3 separate regions of the Homo sapiens genome follow, and regions 1 and 2 are each linked to region 3. Evidence: promoter capture Hi-C in 16 types of primary human blood cells and fetal thymus (Javierre and others, 2016). All regions are on one chromosome and are shown on one strand. Each heading gives the region's core, a stretch centred on a gene start or on the middle of the fragment in contact. The rest is flanking DNA. Distances are from core to core; before and after follow the strand shown.

Region 1 (3,955 bases), core at 561-3,060, 1.0 Mb after region 3:
AAATTCTATTTTCATTGGCTGTCACTGCTGCCGGCCTTTGTAAGGGGGCGCTCTGATTGGTCGATAAGGTGGGGGCGTCGAGGGTCTTTGAGTCCTAAGGCTTCTAATTGGTTAGATGAGATAAGCTAGTGAAGCGCTTTCTTCCGAGAGGGATTTCGATTGGTCGGTCAGAGAGGTTACCTGGAAATCCAACACCGCCCAACACCCCTCCCGCTCCCCAGTCCGGGGACTTCGATAGGTGAGTTTGGTGTAGAAAACAAATCTTTCTTCAGTTGGTGAGCTAGGGTAGCGCACTACGGTTCACTCTTGCTTTCTTTGCTTCACAGGATTGGAGAAGGTTTGTGTTCCCGACGCCTTGGTAGTTGGCATAGGCTAAAGAAAAGGGATCTCAGCCCCGAGGAAGGGTCACCCTCCTAGAGATAGCTACTACCCCGTCTCAGGAGACCCTGGTATTTCTAGAGCACGCTTTGCTTTCACCAAACCCAAGGAGGTGACAGGAGGAGCCCCCGCACAGGACCTAAGAATGCTGTGACCAGAAGATGGGATCGCGGAACAGCAGCAGTGCAGGATCCGGGTCCGGAGACCCCTCCGAGGGCTTGCCCCGAAGAGGGGCTGGCCTGCGTCGGAGTGAGGAAGAGGAAGAAGAGGATGAAGATGTGGATCTGGCCCAGGTACTGGCCTATCTCCTCCGCAGGTAACTTACCCTCTGGTGTGACCCCCAGCAGGTGCTACCACAGTGCCTTGATCCCAACTCCAGGCAGGAAAATTACAGAGGTTAGGAAATGGGATTCGCTCAGGACAGCTGTTCTGTTTGAGCTGAACAGCCTTTCCCTGCTGGGCACCCATGGCACTCAGCTCCATACCCAGTAAGAGTGGTTCTTACCTAGGGAGGGTCACCAAGAGGACCTGCTCATGTGTTTGAGGGGCTATTCAAGGGAGCCTGTCTCTGTGACTACACAAATATAGTCTATTTTCCAAGTAAGCTTGAAAAAAAAAAGGGGGGGGTCCTAGTGGGAAAGGAGTGATGTAAGGGGTGAAGAGATGGGAAGGGAGTGTTGAACTTTTTAGTAAGGCAGTTGACACATGATATGAGGCCACTTCGATTTACTTGAAAAACAAGTTTAATTTGCCCTGACTCTAACCTGTTCTTGAGGAAAGAATGCCTTGAAGGGAGAGACCACCTGGAATTGACTGGAAAAGGGTGCAGCTGGCTTTCTTTCTTTGCTTATGGCTCTTTGAGGAGAAGATGGGTTTGGGGGTCCCTTCAGAATATTGTATTCTTTTTTGTTTGTGTTTTGTGTTGTTTTTAGTAGACATAGACAGGGCTCACTGTGTTCCCCAGTCTGGAGAACGGGCTATTCACAGGTGTGATCAAGTGCACACCACAGCCTGCAACTCCTGGGCTCAAGCAATCCTTGCCTCCCAGGTAGCTAAGACTACAGTTGCACACACCACCGCACCCAGCTTAGAATATTGTCTTCTGTGGTGGACTTCTCAGGCAGAGGCTCAGAAGGAAATGCTGTGAGGATGTTTAGCTTGTTGGGAGGTCAACTTAGTAGGTCATGTCCACAGCGTATTGGTCTTGCTCTTGTTCTAAGGAAATGATGTTAGAATGTTTAGCTCGCTGGGAGGTCAACTTAGTAGGTCACGTCCACAGCATGTTGGTCTTGCTCTTGCTGTAAGAGTAAAACTCTCTTTCCTACTGTGTTTTATAGGAGACCAAAAATAACAGCCAAGGTCTAGTCAGCCTCAAACCTCAAAATGAGTACCAAGTGGTCTAAGAGCTAGATAGCCATTGACTCTGAATTTGGTTGGTTTGGGGGAAGAAGTCCCCTCCTTTATAATGGGGGTCTCTCCACAGAGGCCAAGTGAGGTTGGTGCAGGGAGGAGGTGCAGCAAATTTACAATTCATTCAGGCCCTCTTGGACTCAGAGGAAGAGAATGACAGAGCTTGGGATGGTCGTCTTGGGGATCGATACAACCCACCTGGTAAGAGGAAAAGCCCCTAATGTTGGAAGACTTTTACTAGAAAACCTTTTAGTGATATTTTGAATGATAGGTTACATTGAAAGAAGGTACGATAATTTAAGGAATAAGGAGTCCTTACAGCCCCAGTATATTCAGCCACAGGGGTGGGCTTGGGTACAGTTCTGCTAACTGTCCTCTGAGGCTGGCAGACCTAGGATGAAACTTCTCCTTGGTACTCACAGTGGATGCTACCCCTGACACCCGGGAGCTGGAATTCAATGAGATCAAGACACAAGTGGAACTGGCCACAGGGCAGCTGGGGCTTAGGCGGGCCGCCCAGAAGCACAGCTTTCCTCGAATGTTGCACCAGGTAGGCCTCTCCACCTCCCAGCCTGGCAGCAGGCCTGCCAAAGCAGCCAGAAGCTCTGCCAGCCCCAGAGAAAAAGGAAGTCAACTTTCCAAAGTAGAAGCCTCAAGCGCTGGGGCTGGAGAGTTAACCAGCCTCCATCGGAGTTCTGTGGGACAGACTATGATGTGTGTGTCCATTTCTATAACAAGAGCAATATCTTTGGAGGAGGGGGCTTGATATGGCTGAAGTGGCCCTCTATTTCTGCTAGCAATATTCCCCAATCCCTTCCATTTAGAGAGAACGGGGCCTCTGCCATCGGGGAAGCTTCTCCCTTGGAGAACAGTCTCGAGTGATATCTCAGTGAGTATGGGGCTTGGTGAAGAGACTCTAAGGGCCAGATAGGTCTTATCTCCTAAACTTTGAAGGGGTAGGTGTTAAAGGAGCCTCAGAGATATTAAAGGTTAGGTTAAATGGGGTTGAAACTTTGAGAGTAAACAAAGTAGAAAAGTGTAGAAAATTGTAGAAATTTAGAGGATGGTGGAATGGTTGAAAGACGGGATTGCACTCACAGCCAAAAGGGAAGAATGACTGTTCTGATATTCCAGCTCTGTTAGGATTCTGCTGATTGGGACACTCCTTATCCTGAGCACCCCTCACCCTCACTTTCTCTCTCCTTCCCTAGCTTCTTGCCCAATGATCTGGGCTTCACTGATAGCTACTCTCAGAAGGCTTTCTGTGGCATCTACAGCAAAGATGGTCAAATATTCATGTCTGCTTGCCAAGGTACCAGACCCTGGTCCTATAAACTATCTTTTCCTGGAACATGGGACATTCCCCCTGACTGAGGCTAGAAAGCCACAGACGGGGAGCTCAGACCTGGCTTAAGGATGCTTAGCCAGACCATGTTTCCCATGATAAAGGGAAGACTCCACAGGTACACTGAGTGGGAGATGTCTAATCTAGAAAAGTTACAAGGAAACTGTCCCATAATTCTGCCTGATCTTTACTTACACAGACCAGACAATCCGACTCTATGACTGCCGATATGGCCGTTTCCGTAAATTCAAGAGCATCAAGGCCCGCGACGTAGGCTGGAGCGTCTTGGATGTGGCCTTCACCCCTGATGGGAACCACTTCCTCTACTCTAGCTGGTCTGATTACAGTGAGTATGCACCAGGCTTCCACTGACTCTCCAGCCTGGGACCTGAGGTTTCCATGTGCCTGTCCCCTCTGAGCCAGGATCCCTCACTTTGTCCTGGGAAAATCACTCCCAAAGTGCTCCAGTACCCTTGTCCCCTGTTTGATCTCTTCCCTAGCTTCACTTCCACTCTTCTTCCCCCATCCCTGAAAGATTCTTGTTTTTCTTGCTTCTCTTAGTTCATATCTGCAATATCTATGGTGAGGGAGATACACACACTGCCCTGGATCTCAGGTACTGGCTTCCCTTTCTGGTCAGACTCATCAGAAACTTCTCAAGGGAAGCTCTTTGGGAGCAAACCTCTTGAGTTGGAAGTTCTGTTTAGGGGAAAAAGTATACTGGTGGGTCTGTGTGCATTCCTGGGAGGGAAGCACCATCTTGTCAGCCAGAGGACTGGGTAAAATAGATGGTTGCAGGATGATTTCTGGGTTCTCACTGAG
Region 2 (3,454 bases), core at 91-2,590, 1.2 Mb after region 3:
TTGGTCTTCAGATAATCAGCTGCACAAGAGTGAGATACGTGAGGGGTGGAATAACGATAGTGTATGAAGACAGGAGGACTCTGGCTGATAAGAGATTGGAAAGAATTGACTGTGATCTGCTTGCCAAAAGCACTAACATGACTTTGGGATGCACTAAGAGAGCTTTAGTACCCAGAACAATGGGGCTCATAGGCCCCAGACTCTGTGAGAGTCAAACCCTGTGAGGAGTGTGTGGCCCATTTTGAGAGGGACAGAGACAAACTGTAGAGTCCAGAGGTAGAAATCAGGATGGTGAGAAGAGCCCATGACCACAGGGAAGACATGAAGATACTGAACTGGGAGAGAAGATTCAAGGGGCAGATGATAATGGTCTTTCAACTCCTGGAATAGAAACCGAATTGATTCTGCATATCTTGAGAGCAAAGACCAAAGACCAGAGAGTGGATGTAGATCCTTTATGAGGAAGGACTTTCTAATAATTAAAGCTAATTATTCTACCAAAGGTAGAATGGGCCTCAATGAGAGGTGGGAGGCATTCAAGCATATGTTGGTCAACCACTTTGTGAGAACGTAGTAGTGGACATTCAGAGACCAGAGTCTCTCCACTCTGAAGTTCTGAAAGATGCTGATCCCTGGGATGGAGCAGGGGACTAGAGTAACTCAGAGCCCAAGAAGATCCTCTCCACTGCCCATTCCCCACAACTGACCATTCCTTGGACACTTGGTTTGAATGCTTGCATTCTTTCTCTTCTCCCTGCTCCCCAGTTCCTTCTGAGTCAGGCTGGGGAAATTGCTTGATGGCCCATGGGGGTTGCCACGTGCCTGTAGCACACTTCCTGGCTGGGGAAGAAGACGAAACAGGTTAGCCAGTGAGAAGGGAGGGCAGGTCCCCAAGGTTGCCCTAAAAGACAGAAGGGCCCCAGAGGGAAAGTCCCCACAAGAGCATTCTAACTCTCCCAGGGTGTGGTGGGTACTGACTCAGGTTGGCGTCTCTTGGGGAAGAGTTGAGGGAAAAGCAACCAAGAAATGGTGTTGAAAAGCTGGAAAAACTTCTTGAGCCAGCCAGAACTGAAGCCTCTGTGACAGGAGCCAGGCACTGCATGGTGACTGGTGATGATAATGACATGTTGGCTAAAAATTGCCCAGAGCACTGGTGGAGGTGGGAATGTAGCCAAGAAGCTCACTGCCTGGCAAGGCTGCTGCCCAGCTGCAGGGGGCACCATCACATTCGGTTTTGGGCATATATGATGTGAGTGGTACCAGGAGGCAGAAGCCCTGACGTTCTATGTCAAGTGAGAAGCAGAAGCTGTGGAACAAAGTGAGACTGTGGGTCCTGGGGAAGGATGGGATGCTGTCGCTGGTAGATGAACACAGGGGGCTAAGGACATACTCCTCTAGGGGAGGAAAGAGGAACCGCTCCTTTTGGGGGAGCACTCAGGCCTCGCCCTTTCCCTGTCCCATTCATCCATCCAACAAATACTGACTGAGGGCCCTCTGTGCCTGATCCACGCTAGGGTGGGGGCTGCGACAGTGAGCAGAGCACAGACAAAGTCCCTGCCTCACTGAGCATACAGGCTAGCCCTGGGCTGTTTAATCGAACTTTCTGGATGATGGAAATAATCACATAAGCAAATGTAGAAGGACAACTCTGTCAACTGCTCTGCCTTTATGGAGAGGCATATGGTGCTGGGTGAGCACCTGATGGGGAGCTGCCCTGTCTGAGAATGGGGGTGGGCTTCCTAAAGGAAGTGAGTGGGAGCTGGGGCTGTAGGTGAGCAGAAGCCCTGGCTTGGGGCTCGGTCAAGTGCCTCTTCTGTTCCTCTCAGCACCAGGTCCTGTGGTGCCTGCATTATAGCTCATCCTGTGGGTGCAGCGCCCCACTTCTGCTCCTGCTGTGAACTACCTACCCAAGGGGACTCATTTGACTGCATTTCCTCTCACCTAGCAAGGTGCCTGCACCATGGTGGTTGCTCAACTAACGTTAACATAATTTAGCCAGTCAATTATCAACCAACAATTATTGAGCGCCAGTACAGCTCAATATACAGTGGTGACCAAGACAGACAAGGTCCCTGCTGTCATAGGGCTTACATTATAGTTGGGGAGACAGTCCCTGTAGGAGCAAATACACACCTAAGACAATTTCAGGGAATCTAAGTGCCCCTGAGGGAAATGAAACAGGGTATTGAGACTAGTTGGGAAAGAATGAATGAATGAATAAATGGTGAGCCATGGAGGCACCCACCCACTGGGCTGGGGTGGGAGATGAGGAGGAGGAGTTGGGGATCTTAGAGCCCAGGGCAGGGAGCTTGGTCAGGGGTGGCTGCACTCCAGGCTGTAGGGCCAGGCCTCGCAGCACCGGGAGGGAGTGGACAGGGAGTGGTTCCGAAGCTCAGAATTCAGTGTAAAGGAGAATGCCTGGAACTGCTGACAGGAGCAATGCTGTGTTCCTGAGTCCCCTGTGGGCCCAATCATGACTCAGGCTTGAGCTCTGTGCCTGGCAAAGAACACTGAGGGGAAGAGGGGCAGGGAGGACCTGGAGTAGCCCTACAGAGGCATCCAAGGCTCCCACTGCTGGCAGCCCTGTTGGGAAATTCTCTCTTAGGCCCCTGAGCGGGGGTTTTGAGGCTGAGGTGTGGTGTGTGGGGCCGAGGCCAAGGACCGATGGATAGCAGGGATCAATGAGTCCTTAGAGGGTCAGTCCTGGGATACAGACACTGCCATGGCTGGCCCAGCATACCTCCCCTCAGGGAGGAAGGGTGGAGCTCTCACCAATTGGTCTCACTGGGCCTGTGAGTTCAGCCACACTCTGGGTTTGCCCCAGGTACTGTGCAGTTCTGTGCTGAAGGTTTCAAAGTTTCTGTGCATGGGGAAGGAGACAGCAGGAGAATGGGGGATGAAGGGTTCAAGACCTAATCCCTAACTTTGGGAAGGAGTCATCCTTATCCAGGAAATGGATGAAGACATCTATGGCTCTAACACTAGTCAAGAGCCAAGTGAATTTCATAGTAAGAGGTTCCCTGGAAGCGGGCAAAGCAAGGGTAGAAGACGCCAGGAGAAACTTCTAGGAGGTTGAGATGGGCCTGGCTGGATGAATTCTGGCAGGCAAAATGGGGTTGGGGGCTGGGTGAAAGAATGAGCAGTAATCCAGAGATCAGAACAGCTGGAGCAAAGGCGCAGAGGAAAGGGAGTGTGGTCAAGTTTAGGGAAGAGTAAGGCTCAATGTGGCCAAGAGGAACTTAGGCTGGGTGAGCTTGGGAAAGCTTTCACCATTCTGCCCAGTCCCCAACCCTTCCTCTACCCAAAGTAGAAGGCCTCCAAAGTCAAAACCAAACCAGAGGCCGGCACAGTGGCTCACGCCTGTAATCCCAGCATTTTGGGAGGCCAAGGCGGGCGGATCACTTGAGGCCAGGAGCTTGAGACCAGCCTGGGAAACCCCGTCTCTACTAAAAAT
Region 3 (3,441 bases), core at 321-2,820:
GTCAGAAATGATGAGGAAAAAAAAGAAAAACAAACCCCCACCTCTACCACAACCTCTAAATTAAACGCAATGACTTAAATACACACAATTAAACTGTATTCCTTTTCCAGGGACCTGAAAACCCTTTACTAACACTGTTCTCATTCATCTTCAGAAGACCCATAAAGGTAGCCATGGTTACTGTTACTAAATGTACAGATATAAAATGCAGGCACACAGAATCAGTGACCTGGCTATGTCATAATATCAGTAATAGAACCAGTACTAAAATCCCTATTATCTTCTGCACTTTCGCCAAGTGCCCCTTCTAAATCTGATCATGCATGTAAAATTACTTAAAATACTCAAACCAGCCATGGGGCTCCTGGTTTTTGCCTGACGGAATTACTTGGTCAAAGGGTTACCCAGTACCAGGGTCAATTTGTATAATTTCCAGTACTGTGGCACCTAGATTTATCAAATTTATAAAATTTTCAAAGAGGAAGCTACAGAAGAAAATGACCACAGACCCTGTAAACTGTGGTCTAACCTAGTCTATCCACACAAACACACACACACAAACACACACACACAAAACTATCAGCTTCTGTATAAGCAACGGTCTGCCAACTCAACCCTGGAGCCAACCCAGACCTAATCTGCACTACCTGCCACGTATCCTGTTGAACTCTAATTAAAACCAAGACATCCTCATCTTCCCTTCTTTAAACCAAACCTATACACTTGAATCGAGCTACACCTACCTCATGACAATCCCACCTTAATCTACTCAAACCGATTCAAAATCCCCAATATATATCAACCTGCCTCGCCTCTCTCACCAATATTCACCAAACTCTTAACCACCCAAATTGCCACTAGATGCCACTAAATTAGAGACCTCTCTCTCATCAAGTCCCTTCAAATAAAGGTCTCTCTTCATCTCACCTCCTCATCTAATCGAGCAGACATTTTACCCTACCCCAGTCCTATTCGTGCAGATACCGATACCAACCCCATCCACCCCTTCGCGCAACTATACCCCTAACTCCGACCCAGCCCAACTCGCCCCCCTCAGGCCAGCAACGCCGTAGGTTGTAGTGGGATTTAACTCCTTCTGCAGCGCATGCGCCGAAACCACAGATACAAACAAGGAGGGGGTGGGGGAAGGAGGAAGGAGCTTAAGACACTCCTGGAGAGTAGTGCACACCCTCCCATTTGGGCTCGCGCTGCTGCCGTTAAGGCGGGAACCGGCGCGATCTCCATTCCAGCGCGAACCTCATCAACCACCGTGCGCGCGGATCCAGAGGCTCGCGCTGGCGGCCTGAGCGAGCTCGCGCCGAGCCCGGATACTGCGCCTGCGCCGCGGCAGAGGCTCGTCTCTACCGGGTCCGCTCTCCTCCGACACCCCAGCAACGCCGACTCCTCACCCCTTTGAGCCGCTTGACCAGGGCACTCTTCTGCCCGCTCTTGGCTAGGCCTCGCTGCTCCAGTGCGGCCTTCAGGTCGGTCACCCGCAGCGCCTGAAGAGGCTTCCCGTCCAGAGTCACCTCCTCCAGCTCCGCCATCTTGCGTGAGGTACTCGGGTCCGTCCCGACGGCTTCGGGCATCTTCGGTAATTTCCGCCAACGCCCTTCGAACGTACCGAGATGACCCCGCCCACTGCCATACTCTACCCCTCGATTACCACTCAGAACTCCCCGGGTTCCTCCGGATGTCCTCGGATGTTTCCGTCTCCACATCGTTACCAATCAATTCTTTCCATCCGCCCTGCAGCGCCCCTTTTCTCGCCCTGCTTTCAGGCTCGGTTTTCTTCGTCTTGCCGAAGCTTTGAATCGAATATATTCGGAAACCCTCGACCCTGGTATAACCATAATCGGAGATGTTCGTTTATTTCCGGACCTAGAGATGAGGCGCTGGGGCGCTTGGGTGTTTGGGGCGGGTCCGAGGCCGGAAGTGCGTGGGCTGCCGGGCTGGCCCAGCTTAGGGTTTTCAGGAAATTTGGAAGCTGCCGCAGTAGTTGGAGTCTAAGGACTCGTGACAATCTTCGGGTGCCCTTCGAGAGAAAAGGGGAGGTAAGCGGGGTAGAAGTACCTCTATGGGCCGGGTCAGACTCGGTGTTTGCGGATTACCTTAATAGGGCAAGCCCCCCACTCCTTAACGCAAACAGCTTCTGCCCTCTGTCCTCTGAATCATAGCCACTCCCATCTTAGGCTTTTTTTGGGGAGGGGCGGGGGGCTGGTGCGGAATCGGAATAACAAGCTCCGTGGGGGTGCGCAAGAAGCATCGCCGTGTCTTCGGACCCAGACTATGAACTGATCTATGACGCTGAACTTGAGTTTGAGTTTGCCTTGGAAGCCATGTGGCAAGATTCTGGGAAAGTTCTTCCTTGCTCCGCAGAAGAGAGTAAGTTCCCTTGGAGGAACTGCTTCCTGTAGGGCAAGAACTGGAAAATGCAAGCGCCCTGAACTTTTTTGGTACTTGAACTAATATTAATTGTTTAGGGGCTTCTTTCTTTGTCACTACCAATCCTCCAACTTGATGCAGAAGAAACACAAACAGTAAAATAGGTCACAGACAAATAGTTTAGAGATTTAAGAGATACGTTAGAGATTTAAGAGACTGAAAACTATTAAAGTCAAATTGGCTGATCTTTCCGTTGCATTCATGATGCAAAATCAGTGGCAAGGTGCCGGGCGCGGTGGCTTACGCCTATAATCCCAGCACTTTGGGAGGCCGAGGCGGGCGGATCACTTGAGGTCAGGAGTTGGAGACCAGTCTGGCCAATATGGTGAAACCCCGTCTCTACTAAAAATACAAACAAATTAGCCGGGCGTGGTGGCGTACGCCTATAGTCCCAGCTACTCGGGAGGCTGAGGCAGGAGAATCGCTTGAACCCAGGAAGCAGTGGTTGAGATCACGCCATTGCACTACAGCCTGGGTGACAGAGCAAGACTCCGTCTCAAAAAAAAAAAAAAAAAAAAAAAAAATTGCAAGGCACCAATAGATACCATACTAAAAAAAAAAAAAAATTTTTTTTTTGTCACTCCACTCTGGGTCCCTCCACTCTGACGCAGGCTGGAGTGCAGTGGCGCGATCAGGGCTCACTGCAGCCTCAACCTCCCGGGCTCAGGTGATGCTCCTACCTCAGTCTCCTACGTAGCTAGGACTACAGGTAGGCACCTCTACGCTCAACTAATTTTTTTATTTTTTGTAGGGATGAGGTTTTGCCATGTTGCCCAGGCTGGTCTCGAACACCTGGGCTCAAGCGATCCTCTTGCCTCGGCCTCTCAAAGTGCTGAGATTACTTTGGAAGTGCAAGAACCACCGCGTCTGGCCCATACTAAATATTAAGGACAATTGTTTAAAGACATGGATTGTCATAAAATAGTATAACACTTGTTAGATCTCTAAGCCAACAAACCAACTGGACTCTTTTTTAAGAACGTCTCAAACACCCGG

What was found. The method cuts DNA at HindIII sites, captures the fragments that hold promoters and counts their contacts. A CHiCAGO score of 5 or more calls a contact.
Region 1: a contact is called between a fragment that was not itself captured here and the fragment with the promoter of ACIN1 in region 3, in 1 of 17 cell types (erythroblasts). The highest score is 5.3, in erythroblasts.
Region 2: a fragment that was not itself captured here is called in contact with the fragment with the promoter of ACIN1 in region 3 in 1 of 17 cell types (M0 macrophages); the score reaches 7.7 in M0 macrophages.

Annotation. Positions count from the first base shown.
Region 1 is chr14:24,115,056-24,119,010 of GRCh38, forward strand. DCAF11 (DDB1 and CUL4 associated factor 11) reads left to right here. Exons shown (of 15, transcript NM_025230.5): 1 at 1-238; 2 at 327-694; 3 at 1,862-1,989; 4 at 2,211-2,338; 5 at 2,613-2,677; 6 at 3,000-3,100; 7 at 3,333-3,479; 8 at 3,695-3,749. The coding sequence starts at 540. Among named protein-coding and RNA genes, the nearest start is that of NRL, 2.1 kb to the left of the region's middle. The HindIII fragment of the contact is 1,658 bases long and covers 982-2,639 here.
Region 2 is chr14:24,278,588-24,282,041 of GRCh38, forward strand. It overlaps a transcript of NOP9 not described here. Among named protein-coding and RNA genes, the nearest start is that of RABGGTA, 8.7 kb to the left of the region's middle. RefSeq lists a silencer at 70-300 and enhancers at 858-1,007, 1,348-1,427. The HindIII fragment of the contact is 3,842 bases long and covers 1-3,261 here.
Region 3 is chr14:23,093,566-23,097,006 of GRCh38, forward strand. It overlaps ACIN1 (apoptotic chromatin condensation inducer 1), which reads right to left and starts at 1,571. Exons shown (of 19, transcript NM_001386863.1): 1 at 1,410-1,571. The coding sequence starts at 1,547. It overlaps C14orf119 (chromosome 14 open reading frame 119), which reads left to right and starts at 1,940. Exons shown (of 2, transcript NM_017924.4): 1 at 1,940-2,054. RefSeq lists enhancers at 1,312-1,621, 1,327-1,850, 1,662-1,741, 1,762-1,971, 1,851-2,374. The HindIII fragment of the contact is 2,975 bases long and covers 1-1,805 here.